Linked DNA regions of Homo sapiens: all the other regions are linked to region 1. Evidence: promoter capture Hi-C in 16 types of primary human blood cells and fetal thymus (Javierre and others, 2016). All regions are on one chromosome and are shown on one strand. Each heading gives the region's core, a stretch centred on a gene start or on the middle of the fragment in contact. The rest is flanking DNA. Distances are from core to core; before and after follow the strand shown. Region 1 holds the start of NUBPL (NUBP iron-sulfur cluster assembly factor, mitochondrial). Region 2 overlaps LOC105370440 (a long non-coding RNA gene). Region 3 has its middle 19 kb from the start of LINC02313. Region 4 has its middle 35 kb from the start of LINC02313. Region 5 has its middle 51 kb from the start of LINC02313.

Region 1 (2,575 bases), core at 1-2,500:
ACAGCCTGGGTGACAGAGCGAGATTCCGTCTCAAAAAAAAAAAAAAAAACAAAAAAAAAAAGTTACTAGATGTTTTAAAAATAACAGCAACCAATTATTGAACACTAGTAAACACTAAGCTAAGTGGTTAGCTTGTGCAATTTGAATAACCATCTTATGAAAGAAGTTATCTCCATTTTACAGTTAAGTGAACTGAAGATTTGCTGTACAATCTGACCACTTTTTCCTGAGTTAAGGGGTGGGAGACCCGGCTAGTACCTACTTTTGTCTAACTCCAAAATCTAAGCGTCTACCCGCTACCAACTCCTGAAACTAAGGAATCACATGTTAGGAACTTCACAAATAAATTTTTAAAACACAAAACTATAATTTCAATAGTGTGCACTTGTCTGTTGGCATAAGTTCTTAATCAGGAATAGAATTAATATCCTATAATACCTGCTGTAGTAGATTTTCCGACTCCACCCTTTCCAGAAGCCACAACTATAACTTGTTTAACACCTTCTATCGGTTTCTGCTTTGGAAGTCCTCGGGACATGATTTGTGTTCTTCTTTGTTTTAGGGTCTCACTCCCGGCGCCAGACAACTTTAAAAAATAATAATAATAAAAAGCCGTTTTAAATAAGCCATCTCCATCATCACACTGTAAAAGCAAAAACAATCTGGGGTTTGCAATTAAGAGGGCTTTCTTTTCTAATTCTGCTCATCTTCACTATGGAGACATTTACCTACTACTACTGATAACAATTGTAAAGACACATTGCTTAAATTGAAATTTTTCTAGCAGGATACGCTGAACGTTTAAAAATGTAAAAACGCTGCCTCTTTACGGAGATAAGGCTTCCACGTGTTTTGCTTTTCTTCAATCTATTTGATAAATAACCCAAAGCCAAGAAAGCAATGTAGAATACCACATCTACGTTCTAACTGTGTTTCAAGTCCCGCCACGCCTCAGCCTGGGCCTGCCTGAAAAGTAGGCACGTCCAGCACACTGGGGGTCTCAGGAACTGAGGCGAGTCTTTGGCAAGAAGCAATGCCAGGGCATCTGCGGCCCTGCAGCCCAGCATCTGTCAGCCCGCTTCCCCCTGCCCTGCAGCACCACGGACCTGGCGCCCACAAACCATCGCTCGGCTTCCCCCAAGCGGGGCAGTGGCCCCGCCACCAGCCCGGAGCGACACCCCACCAAAAAGCAGCAGACGCTGCCAAATCCCCATGACGCGGAACGCTGCTGTGAGCCCTGCTGGGAAACTGTCGCGGGTGGCGCGGAGTGATGACGTCACGGAGCAACGCTCGGCTTTCTCTTCCTAGCAACCGGTCTTCTTTGGGTTTGTTGGCTCAGGAACCCAATCTGCATGATCTTGTTTATAGCCAGCTACAAACATTTTGCAGCGTTTTACTAAACGTTTGTGAAGTGTTGTCATATAAAACATCTCTTATGATACTTACAGAAGTCCCGAGGTAGACAGAAGACTTACCTAGTATACTCTTTTTATGGACAAGAAAACGGAGAAAGTTTAAAGAGACTTGACCCAGCTTAACAAAAGTAGGAAATGGGGGACCTTGAAAATGACCCCAGGATTTCTTACTAAGCAGTATATGGTCATTTAAATACTACCACCGTTAAGGATTTTACCTTTTTATTTTATTTTTTCCCGTGTGATCTACAGTGAGAGTCTGTTTTGCGTTGGTATTCATGGCTTGTGTTGCTGACAGTTCCCTGAAAGAAAGGTCAGGTTGCTTTACCAGCAACCTGGTAAAGAACTTTGCAAGTTCTTCCAGACTTAAGACTCATTTATTTAACAAATATTCGTTGAGCAACTACTATGTACCGAGTACTACAGTAGACTTAAAATATTCAGCATTGAGACCGACATAATTCCTCCACTAAAGGGCTTTATAATCCAGTGCAAAAGACAGAATAAGTTAACAACAAAATTGCGGTATAATATGATAAGTACAGGAGAAAAGCATTGAGGGATACAGGAGAAAGGACAAAGTGATACAAAGAAAGGGCACTCAATTCAATCAGGGGAAGCTTCTAAATTAGGTAATATCTAAGCTGAATGCTGAATCTGAATAATGTGTAGAAGTTAGCTGGGAGAATGGCAAGGAGATTGTTGTAAAGAGGTTAGAAATGGACTGCTAAGGCTAGGCATGGTGGCTCACGCGTGTAATTCCAACACTTTGGGAGGCCAAAGCAAGAGGATTGCTTGAGCCAGGAGTTCAAGGATGCAGTGAGCTATGATTGCACCACTGCACTCCAGCGTGGGCAGCAGAGTGACACCTTGTCAGAAGAAGAAGAAAGAAGGAAGGAGGAAGGAGGAAGAGGAAATTAAAAGGAGAAGAAAGAAGAAGGAAGAAGAAAGAAGAAGAGAGTAGAAGGAAGAAAGATGAAAGAAGAGAGAAAAGCCCCCGCCCGGCCAGCTGCCCCGTCCGGGAGGGACGTGGGGGGCAGCCCCCATCCGGTCAGCCGCCCCGTCCCGGAGGGAGGTGGGGGGCAGACCCCGCCCGGCCGCCACCCCGTCCGGGAGGTGGAGTCACCTCTGCCCGGCCACCCCGTCTGGGAAGTGAGGGG
Region 2 (2,575 bases), core at 28-2,527, 500 kb before region 1:
CGGTAGTCTCCAAAGACCCGTTTTCCACTTTAAAATTTTCTGATTTTTGAAGCTGTAGAACAGGCCTAACAATAAAAGTGATAAAGAAGATTAACTTGCATTTGTGACTATAGCAGACAGGTTAGGTAGGAGAGGGTGCAGGGATAATACAGGAGGAAGTCCAGGAAGCATGGTCAAATGGCCGACAGTTAAGTCATCTTCCAATATTTTTCCAAAACTCTATGGCCCTGGTTCCTCAATCCCCTTTGAACATTATTTATAACTTTCCATGTGAGAGGTTGCAATATATCCCCATTCTTAGAAAACTCCATGCCCATTTAAAAACACAATTCAAAACATGACCACTACAGTTGTAGCCTGAATGTCTCATTTTTTCAACACTTTAAACGTCAGACTTCTTAGATGTCTCTCTTTATCCATTAGAAGTGAAATCATGGAAGCATTTTTTTTTAAACCCCAAGATGGGCAAGGTGGCTCACACCTGTAATCCCAGCACTTCGGGAGGCCAAGGCAGGTGGATTGCCTAATCTTGGGAGTTCGAGACCAGCTCGTCTCTAATAAAATACAAAAGACTAGCCTGGCATGATGACATGAGCTGGTAATACCAGTTACTCAGGAGGCTGAGGCAGGAGGATCACTTGAACCTGGGAGGTGGAGGTTGCAGTGAGCTGAGATTGTGCCATCGTACTCCAGCCTGGGCAACAAAGCAAGACTCTGTCTCAAAAACAAAAACCAACCAGCCAACCAAACAAACAAAAAAACAGAAAATATACATCAAATTTAGCAGCAATCCTGTCGTGGGGCTTCAATAGAACTGGATTGCAATTGTCTAATCTACTGAAAAGTACTTTATTCCATTTTTGCCTGCCTCTTCAAATCCATGCCATGGGATAATTTTTTAAGGGACTACTTCATTTGAATAGTTAAATTATCCTTGGACGTTGCACAAGATAGAACAAATATAAAACTGAAACTGAACTCAGCATTAAAACAAATCATTATGATAAAAACCCAAGTAATAAGACATCATTAAAACTTTCTGATTAAATTAACAGAAGTGGCACAATTTTTCCTTTGTCTTCCTTCTTTATGAAGCTAAAGCTTCTTTATGATGACATCTGAATGTATTTGAGGGATCAGTCAAACCAGGGTAGAGTTCCAACCTCCTATTAAACAGGGAAGAATAACAAAACAAAGGGCTATTATTATTAAGTGTTGCAATAGACAGTTCAAAGTGGCACTCAAAAAATTGGTATGTCCTTTAACCATTTATATGAGTAAGTATATGTATATGTACATATATCTATAAATTTAATATATGGGAAAAGGTTTGGATAGATGCACACTTGCAGAGGAAAGTGGATAGAGTGCAAGGAAAAGGGGTAAGGAGATGGCAAAGAAGAATTTGTAACTTAGGCTTTTATGCTGTTTAAATTTTTATGATTAAAGCTTGTTTAAAATTAAAAAACATAAAACAAAACCAACCAAGTCTGGGAGTCATGATTACACCACTGCATTCCAGCCTCAGCAACATAGCAAGACCCTATCTCAAAAAAAAGAAAGAAAGAAAGAAAGAAAGAAAGAAAGAAAGAAAGAAAGAAAGAAAGAAAGAAAGAAAAGAAAGAAAGAAAGAAAGAAAAGAAAGAAAGAAAGAAAGAAAGAAAGAAAGAAAGAAAGAAAGAAAGAAAGAAAGGAAGAAAAAACAAAACATACCAAACCAGTATGCATCAATTATTAATCAAGAGAAAAGAACAACATTAGTGGATATGGTGGCTTGTGTCTGTAGTCCCAGCTACTCTGGAGACTGAGACAGAGAGGTACTTGAGCCTGGGAGGTAGAGGCTACAGTGAGGTGTGATTGTGCCACTGCACTCCAGCTTGGGTGACAGAGTGAGACCCTGTCTCAAAAAAAAATCAGGCTGGGCGCGGTGGCTCACGCCTGTAATCCCAGCACTTTGGGAGGCCAAGGCAGTTGGATCACCTGAGGTCAGGAATTCAAGACCAGCCTGGCCAACATGGTGAAACCCCGTCTCTAATAAAAATACAAAAATTAGCTGGGTGTGATGGCAGGCGCCTGTCACCTATAGTCCCAGCTACTCAGGAGGCTAAAGCAGGAGAATTGCTTCAACTTGGGAGGCAGAGTTTGCAGTGAGTTGAGATCGTGCCACTGCACTCCAGCCTGGGTGACAGAGCAAGACTCCGTCTCAAAAAAAAAAAAAAAAATCAATAGCCAACTGATAAATGGAAATGAATGAATAGAGTCTAGTTTAGACTCAGTGACACATCAGGGTATAGACCAGAGCTCTGCTTTAAAATCTGTTAAAAAAAAAAAAAAAAACCAAACTGGCCCCAGCACTTTGGGAGGCCAAGGTGGGAGGATTGCTTGAGGCCAAGAGTTCAACACCAGCCTGGACAACATTGTGAGACACTGTCTCTATTAAAAAAAATAATAATAATAACAAAACAAAACAGTACAACAGTAACAAAAAGCCTAAAATAAAGAAAGTTAGGGTCCATAGCATACATTAGAGCAGGCGTACTAGAAGTCTATTGGAAAAGGTTGAAAACTATCTTGG
Region 3 (2,575 bases), core at 30-2,529, 360 kb before region 1:
GCACGCCTCGGCCAGCCTGTTAATGTTTCAGTGCCTTTAAAGGACTTTCCCATCAGACTATGTTATCTGATGGCTGTGTCTCCCATCTACAGCTATGGTGGGAGGAACTGAGCTATTTACCGCATATACTCTGCAACAAAACACAATCCTGAGGGTAGGGGTTGATGAGCATTTGTTTTTTGTTTTTGCTTTTTTAAAAATCATTAATTCTTAGGCTGCACTTACAAAACTCCCTGAAAGCACTGAACATTTGAATGAATGACATGGGTTTACATGTAAAAAGTTCTTGCAGCGAGTTGTTTACACCAATCTATTGGGTCATGGAAATTTTGCTCAAGATTTGTTTGTGTGGGAATAACACTGAAATACTAGCTTGTCGGAGCCAGCTTTGAAACTAACACAATGAATAGCTATTGTTCTGACAGAATATCCGGCAGCTCATGTCTACATACACTGAAGATGACCTTCCTCTTTAGAAATAGTTCCAATCATTATATATATATTTTAAAGTGTTATTGGTGTACCCAATGTTCTAGGTGCCTGGGGAGAAGGGACATTGTATAAAGATATTTCAGTTTCTCTCCTAAAAGGATTCCACAGCTACTCTATTTGGTAAGTCAGGTTGCCAATATTACACATTCCTGGTATGAAAAGATATGTTACAGAGATAGAAAATAAAGAAAGGAAAAGGTAAGCTTGTCATTTAACACCTATTAAGTACCAGGTTCTATGTTATGATATCATTTCACTTCACCAGCACAACCTAATGAAAACAGATACTGTCCACCATTTTGCAGATGAGGGACTAAGACTTAGATTATGTCACTTGCTAACTTTAGTTAAGTAACACTAATTTAGTAAGTGTCAGAACTGGGATTTGAACTTTGTGCTGTTGATTCTAAATCTGTGCTTTCCCACCACACAGACCTGCGGTCAAGAAGACTGCCACCTAGTGGGTATGACAAGACTTAGGTATAGAAATCATCTGGAGAAAAACACAAGCAGCACATAACCAAATGTTTAATCCACATGACTCCAAGACACCTGGGTTTAATTCTACAAACAAGTACAAAGGCCTACAAAAAGCTAGGCTTTAAGCAGAGTACTTGCAGGGACATTAATGGAGTAGAAGAACTAAAGGAGGTAAAGATTTTTCTATCAATGACATATATGCCTCAGATAATCCAAGATGACTGAGAAGAGAGGTGCAATGTTGTAGGCCCAAGATGACACTGCTCACTTTTTGACGTGCTAGGCCCATTCATTTCTTACACCTAAAATTCCATCGTCTACAAGCCAACAGTCTTGCGTGGTGAGATGTGAATAAGTCCTATGCAGTAAGTCTTCACGCATTAAAGAAAATGAGAATCAGAGGTCACAAAGACAGTTGTAGCATCCATAGATAATGATGAATATAAGTCTAAAATGTGATTGAACACCTGTTAATGTTTTAGGAAATCTTTAGTTCCTAGGATGCCTGTCCTGTTTTTTGTAATCCACTGATATCCACTCTGGGAATGGCAATCGTGCTAGTTACGAAACTATAATCTCTCAGCTCTAAACTTCTATGCTCTGACTTGTGGCTCTGGGCTGGGACTCTCTTGCCTGCTGGCTCCAGAGTAGGCTCTGTCAAGGAGTGCTAGACAGAGACAGTAAGGCTGGAAAAGGAAGAAGGAACCTGCCTTTTTCTGTTTGCTTTCTGGTTGCTTCCTACTTGTCACTGCCTCTGCAGTCTACTTCTTTACCCTGGCAGAGGCAGTTCATTTGGTAGCAACAGTTGATTCTAGTTTGCAGTTTCTCTAATATTCACAAACTTCATAGTGTACAACCCCCACCACCATCCTCCCCATCCCCCAAAGCTTTTTAAGTTTTAATAATTCTGACCTCTTCCCATGTCCCTCTAGTTCTAGGGCTGTCCTTCAGTTACTACCACCATGAATACTGTAATGTACTCTTTGTCTTTTCAGTTCCTCCACACCTAGTTAACAATTCTTTATATTAAATTCTCTCTGTTAAAATAATTGATGTGGTTTCTGTCTGTTGACTGACATATAATTAATTTCACTGTTATTTAAATTAAAGCACATTGGAAAGCTATTTAGTGTATGCTAAGGTCCAACACAAATGTTTGGAATAGGAATATTTAGTTAATCTCCTGCACATAAGGCTGATGGTTCATGTCCAACTGACCATGTCCCTGCCTGGTTTAAGACCTTACAATGACCTCCCCATTCCATAATGGATAAAGTCCAAACTCCTAGCACCAGGCTCTCCATGACAATCTCTGCTCCTCTCCAGACCCATCTGCCTCAACCATGCCTTCTCTGAACCGACCATGCTGTTTTTCATACTCCATACCTTTGCCTAGGTTGTTTCCTCTGCTAAGAATTTATCTGTCAAAGCCCAGCTCAGGTGTCACCTCTTCTAAAAAGCGGTGTCTTCCCTGTTTTTATTTTCCTTCTAACAGCTAAACACTCCCTACTCTGTACTCCTGGTACTTCTAAGTCTAAATGTGCTCTCCTATCAGACCACAGGCTTCTTGAGGCCAAGGTAGACATCATATTCTATCATGTTT
Region 4 (2,575 bases), core at 54-2,553, 350 kb before region 1:
TATTCAGAATACTCAAATGCTGTAATGGTAGTGTTTAAATCATACATACCTCTAGTATGGAGGTTAAAAGTTGAAACATAAAAAATGACCAGGATAGTCATTAAGGGATACACAATATAAAAGATGTAAGTTGTGACATTTGTAAACTAAAAATAAAATTGAAAGCCCCCAACCAACTGATGGACCCTCCTCTTGGCCAAAGGCATTCCAAAGTTAACCTGAAAAACTAGTTCAGGCCATGATAGGAAGCAGAGTGGGCCATGCCTTATTATTCCCTTCTCCCTTTTGGAATTCAGGCACAGCTGACTAGCATTAACATTAAAACAGATGTTAAGACTGACAAAGCAGACTATTCATAGCAATAAGACATCAAATTCCAGCCTGACTCTAGTATAGCATCACATGACAGATAGCAGACCCTAAAAGAAATCAAAGTATTTTGCCCCAAATTATATTTCTTTGATATATTTTGAAATGGTCTTGCAAGCCTGTCTCTTGTGAGGAAAATATACTTTATGTAGACAATCCTCATTTCTTTCCATGTCTTTTCCCTGATCCAGGAGAGAATTAACTGAGTCTGGCACCTTTTTTAGGTCTGATAAGAGCTCTGAAGCCTGCTACCAGGAGGTTTCACTTGCATGATAAAACCTTGGTCTCCACAACCCCTTCTCTTAATCTAGACATTCCTTTCTATTGATTCCAGGTCTTTAGATAATAACTTTTTCAACCAATTGCCAATCAGAAAATCTTTGAATCCACCTATGACCTGGAAGCCCCCTGCTTAGAGTTGTCCTGCCTTTCCAGATCAAACCAATGTACATCTTATACATATTGATTGATGTCTTATGTCTCCCTAAAATGCATAAACCAAGGTGGAGCCCAGCCACCTTGGGCACATGTTTTCAGGATCTCCTGAGGGCTGTGTCATGAGCCACTGGTCACGCATATTCGGCTTAGAATAAATCTCTTCAAATACTTTACAGAGTCTGATTCTTTTTGTTGACACATCAAAAACATAAATGATGATGGAGACTAAAAGTTTAGAGTTTTTCGTATGTGACAGAAATTATCAGTTTAAAGTGGTAGATTATAAGATGTTTTCTGTAAGCCTCATAGTAACCAAAAAACAAACAACAAAAAAACTACAGGAGATAAACAATAAAAAGAAAGATATCAAAGCTTAGTACTACAGAAAATTATCAATTCACAAAGGTAGACAACAAGAGAGGAAGAAAGGAACTGAGCAGCTATAAAACAACCAGAAAACAAATAAGAAAATGTCAGTAGTAAGTTCTTACCCATCAATAATAACCTTGAAGGTAAATTGATTAAATTATCCAATCAAAATACATGAGTGTCTGAATGGATTAAAAAAATAAGATCCAACTATATACTGCCTAAAAAATAAGAGACTCACTTAAGCTTTAATGACACACACAGGCTGAAAGAGAAGGGATACAAGAAGATATTCTATGCAAATGGTAACCAAAAGAGAGCAGGGATAATTATTTTTATATCTGATAAAGCATATCAGACCAAGAAAAGAAAGAAAAAAGACTGGGCATCCAAATCAGAAAGGAAAAAGTAAAAATGACTACGAATTCAGTAAACTTACAGGACACAAAATCAACATACAAAAATCAGTAGCATTTTTATACATGAATAACATATATAAGAATTTTTTAATTCTTAACTGAAAAATAAATAAAGAAATTCCATTTACCAAAGCAACAAACAAAATAAAATACCTAGGGCAAATTTAACCAAGGAAGTGAAAGATATGTACACTGGAAATTATAAAACATGGATGAAGGAAATTGTTGAAGAAGACAAATAAATAAATGGGAAGATATCCTGTGCTTATGGATTAAAATAATTAATATTGTTAAAATGTCCATACTACCCAGGCAATATACAGATTCAATACAATCCCTATCAAAATCCCAGTGACATTCTTCACAGAAATAGAAAAAAGTCCTAAAATTTGCATGAAAACATAAAAGACTAAATAGCCAAAACAATTCTGAGAAAGGAAAACAAAGTTAAAGACATTACACTTCCTGATTTAAAATTATACTACAAAGCTGAAACAGTGTGGCTCTGGCATAAAAACAGACACACAAACCAGTGGAACAGAATGGAGAACCCAGAAATAAATCAAAACATATATGGTCAACTAATGGTGCCAAAGGACAAAATGGGGCAATGGCTTTTTGGGTATTACACAAAAAGCTTAGGCCACAATACCATTCTGCCCAAAGCAATCTACAGATTTAATGCTATTCCTATCAAAACACCAATGTCATTTTTCACAGAATTAAAAAAAACTATTCTAAAATTCATACAGAACCAAAAAAGAGCCAAAAACAGCCCAAACAATCCTAAGCAAAAAGAACAAAGCTGGAAGCCTCACATTACCTGACTTCAAGCTATACTATAAGGTTACAGTAACCAAAACGGCCACATCATGGTATTGGCACAAAAACAGACACATAGACCAATGGAACAAAATATAGAGAATCCAGCAATGAAGCTACACACCTACAACCAACTGATCTTTGACAAAGTCAATGAA
Region 5 (2,575 bases), core at 34-2,533, 330 kb before region 1:
AGGGTTTCATGAAGAGGCTATTTACAAAGGTTTGGGCAGGGGGTAGCGAAACCACAAGTGAGAGCACGATACCCCAAGGCTGGTAAACAGCAGGCAGTGACCAGCCCTAGGCCTAACTGCTCAGAAAGGAAAGGATCCTGAGGAGATGGCTGTGTTGACTTGCCTTTGATAGAGGGATGCAGTCAGCCCTGGACTACGCTGAGGAATCAAACACTCTGACCTTGCTCTCCTCTCTCTTCAGATCTGACAACCAGAAGCCAGAGAGTAGAAGGGCACATACAAGTCATTCTCCCAGGGCCGAAAGTGAGGGAGGTTGGGGAAGGTGGAGAGTGGATACTGAGAGGTACATGGAAGCTGGCTGGTAAAAGTGGGAGGGCCAAGAGTTCAGTCTGGATGTGCCAGATATATGAGTTCAATTAGTCACCAAGAAGAGGCATCAGGTAGGCAGCTGGATCTATGACTGCAGTTCCAGAGGAAGGCCTGAGCTGGAGATGCATTTGGGACTCACAGGCTTTTTAAAGCCACAAGGCTGATCACAAAGATTATCACACTGTGACATACATCACACGGCACTGGGTGGAGCCATGGGCGTCAAAGCTTGACTGCAAAGAGAATGGGAGAGAGAAACAGACACTGAGTGTGAACAACTCTTTTAAATAGTTTTTGCTGCAAAGAAGAGAAAGAAAGTGGGGAGCAGCTGTTAGGGGAAGTAAAGTCAAGGAAAGGTCGACTTTTTTAAGAAAGGAGAACTAACAGTAGGTTTGTATGCTGATGGGAATAATCCAGGAAAAAGAGTAAAACTAATGGTAGAGGAGAGGGAGGACTATGGCAAGGAGAAGAACAGAGTTCCCTGAATTAGGGGGCAGCTGCCACTCAGCTCCAGCCAATGGTTTACAGTCCTCTCGTTTCTCAAGAGAAGTCAGAAATTGGTGTTTTTTTGTTTTGTTTGTTTGTTTTTAAGCACGAAGTCTCCTGATATTTAGCAGGAGATATGTTGACAACTAATTACATTTTTTTTCAAACTTTCTGAAGTTGAATGAAACTCGTCTGCAGGCCACCGGTTGGCAACCTCTCCTAGATTGCTGACTTTGGTTCCTTCCATAGTTATCAGGTGTGGCCTCCTGGTTTAGGGACCTCTGAAGGTCACTGGCTATTTACTGTCTAAAATCTTTGAACCTGTAAGTGCCCCTGCAGTGGTGCTTGGCCAGGGTGGCTAATGATATAGTCCCTGTCCCCTTCACAAAGGGCAGCGGAACTGAGGTTGCCAGACCTAGCCGCACATCCTATACTTAAGTCCTCACAGTTAATACTTAGGCTTCATGTATGCTGTTTACCTCCTCCCGCCTCCTCCTCACTGAGGAAACTATTATCTGCAGGCCAATGCAAATAAAGGTCACCAAGACACACTCACGGGCCAAACACTGAATGCTGGCATGCTGGAAGGGTTGATTGTTTGTAGGCTCCCAGCTAATAAAGGAAATGCCAATCAAAGGGGGCCTTCTCGCCTGCTCCCAACTCAAATGCAGCCCTGGCTGCCAGTGAGAGCTGCAAGCAGGACAGCACTCAGATTTCTGAGGATGCCTGGCACCTGCACAGAAAAATCGCAGAGTCTGGTGATTTGACAGTCTGTCCCTGACCTGGGGAGGACACAGGGCCTGCTAGCCAGGAAGGAAGGAGTGCTGACTTCAGTCATATGGCAGGCTTCCTCCAGAGGCAAGAGTGAGGAGGAAACCCCACCTTGTGAGGGCTGCTGTGTTTTTATATGCACATGACTAATCTTTATGACAGGGTTAAATCCCAGACCTCTCCAATTTTCCCCATGTGAACATAGCATTAAAAATGTTTCTCAGGTCACAGTGCTGGTTTCCCCTTGTGGCACCTGCCTCCTCCTGGAAGTGTAATGTAAGCCTCAAAAAAACCTGTATCTTAAATATTTCTTCTCACTTAACAATAAGTAACTCAAGCTTTAGGTGAGGCAGAGACAGCTTTTATCTCTGAACCATTCCACTCTCACTCCTCTTTTGGTTTAGTCCTATGTAGAACAAGACAGGAAATGGACACACCATCCTGTCACACCGCTAACCCCTCCGTCCTCAAATCTACCTGGCAGAATAAAGGGAGGGAAAAAAAGGAGCAGAGAGTTCCCCATCAGAAACACTTTTCAAGGTCTCCGCCATGGAATCCAAAATAGTTCTTCCTGTTCTAAGTGAGAAGGAAACTGGTGGAGCAGGGTGGTGGGGGGCAGATTTATCAAGAGCTCCCTATGAGGGGAAGATTCTGGGAAGACAGCAGTAGTGGCAAGCATAGTCTTTCAATCTCTCCAAGTCCCCACATAAAAATAGGAAAACAAGATAGCAAAACCCAAAACCCATGGACAACACTTATAACAAAATGAGATGAAGGGGTATCCCTCTGAGCCCCCAAATATAAGTGAGTAGAAACAAACTACCAGAAATCCCTAAACCTGCATGGGGCCTATCAGTGCAGGAGGAAAAAGAGGAAAGCAATGGGGACTGTGACTTATGAACCTGAGAACAGAAAAACCACAACAGGTATTCACTGGAAAACAGAGGAC

What was found. The method cuts DNA at HindIII sites, captures the fragments that hold promoters and counts their contacts. A CHiCAGO score of 5 or more calls a contact.
Region 2: a contact is called between a fragment that was not itself captured here and the fragment with the promoter of NUBPL in region 1, in 2 of 17 cell types (total B cells and total CD8 T cells). The highest score is 5.6, in total B cells.
Region 3: a fragment that was not itself captured here is called in contact with the fragment with the promoter of NUBPL in region 1 in 2 of 17 cell types (endothelial precursors and M2 macrophages); the score reaches 6.1 in endothelial precursors.
Region 4: a contact is called between a fragment that was not itself captured here and the fragment with the promoter of NUBPL in region 1, in 2 of 17 cell types (M1 macrophages and M2 macrophages). The highest score is 5.7, in M1 macrophages.
Region 5: a fragment that was not itself captured here is called in contact with the fragment with the promoter of NUBPL in region 1 in 4 of 17 cell types (M2 macrophages, M1 macrophages, endothelial precursors and 1 more); the score reaches 6.2 in M2 macrophages.

What each region holds. Positions count from the first base shown.
Region 1 is chr14:31,560,079-31,562,653 of GRCh38, reverse strand. NUBPL (NUBP iron-sulfur cluster assembly factor, mitochondrial) reads right to left here and starts at 1,250. Exons shown (of 11, transcript NM_025152.3): 1 at 1,107-1,250; 2 at 439-586. The coding sequence starts at 1,214. It overlaps NUBPL-DT (NUBPL divergent transcript), which reads left to right and starts at 1,323. Exons shown (of 3, transcript XR_943720.2): 1 at 1,323-1,543. RefSeq lists enhancers at 526-1,081, 1,008-1,407. The HindIII fragment of the contact is 6,263 bases long and covers 1-2,037 here.
Region 2 is chr14:32,055,514-32,058,088 of GRCh38, reverse strand. LOC105370440 (a long non-coding RNA gene) reads right to left here. Exons shown (of 4, transcript XR_943727.2): 4 at 709-1,166. Among named protein-coding and RNA genes, the nearest start is that of ARHGAP5-AS1, 20 kb to the left of the region's middle. The HindIII fragment of the contact is 348 bases long and covers 1,104-1,451 here.
Region 3 is chr14:31,924,620-31,927,194 of GRCh38, reverse strand. No RefSeq gene overlaps it. Among named protein-coding and RNA genes, the nearest start is that of LINC02313, 19 kb to the left of the region's middle. The HindIII fragment of the contact is 1,164 bases long and covers 698-1,861 here.
Region 4 is chr14:31,908,617-31,911,191 of GRCh38, reverse strand. No RefSeq gene overlaps it. Among named protein-coding and RNA genes, the nearest start is that of LINC02313, 35 kb to the left of the region's middle. The HindIII fragment of the contact is 243 bases long and covers 1,182-1,424 here.
Region 5 is chr14:31,892,451-31,895,025 of GRCh38, reverse strand. No RefSeq gene overlaps it. Among named protein-coding and RNA genes, the nearest start is that of LINC02313, 51 kb to the left of the region's middle. The HindIII fragment of the contact is 1,367 bases long and covers 600-1,966 here.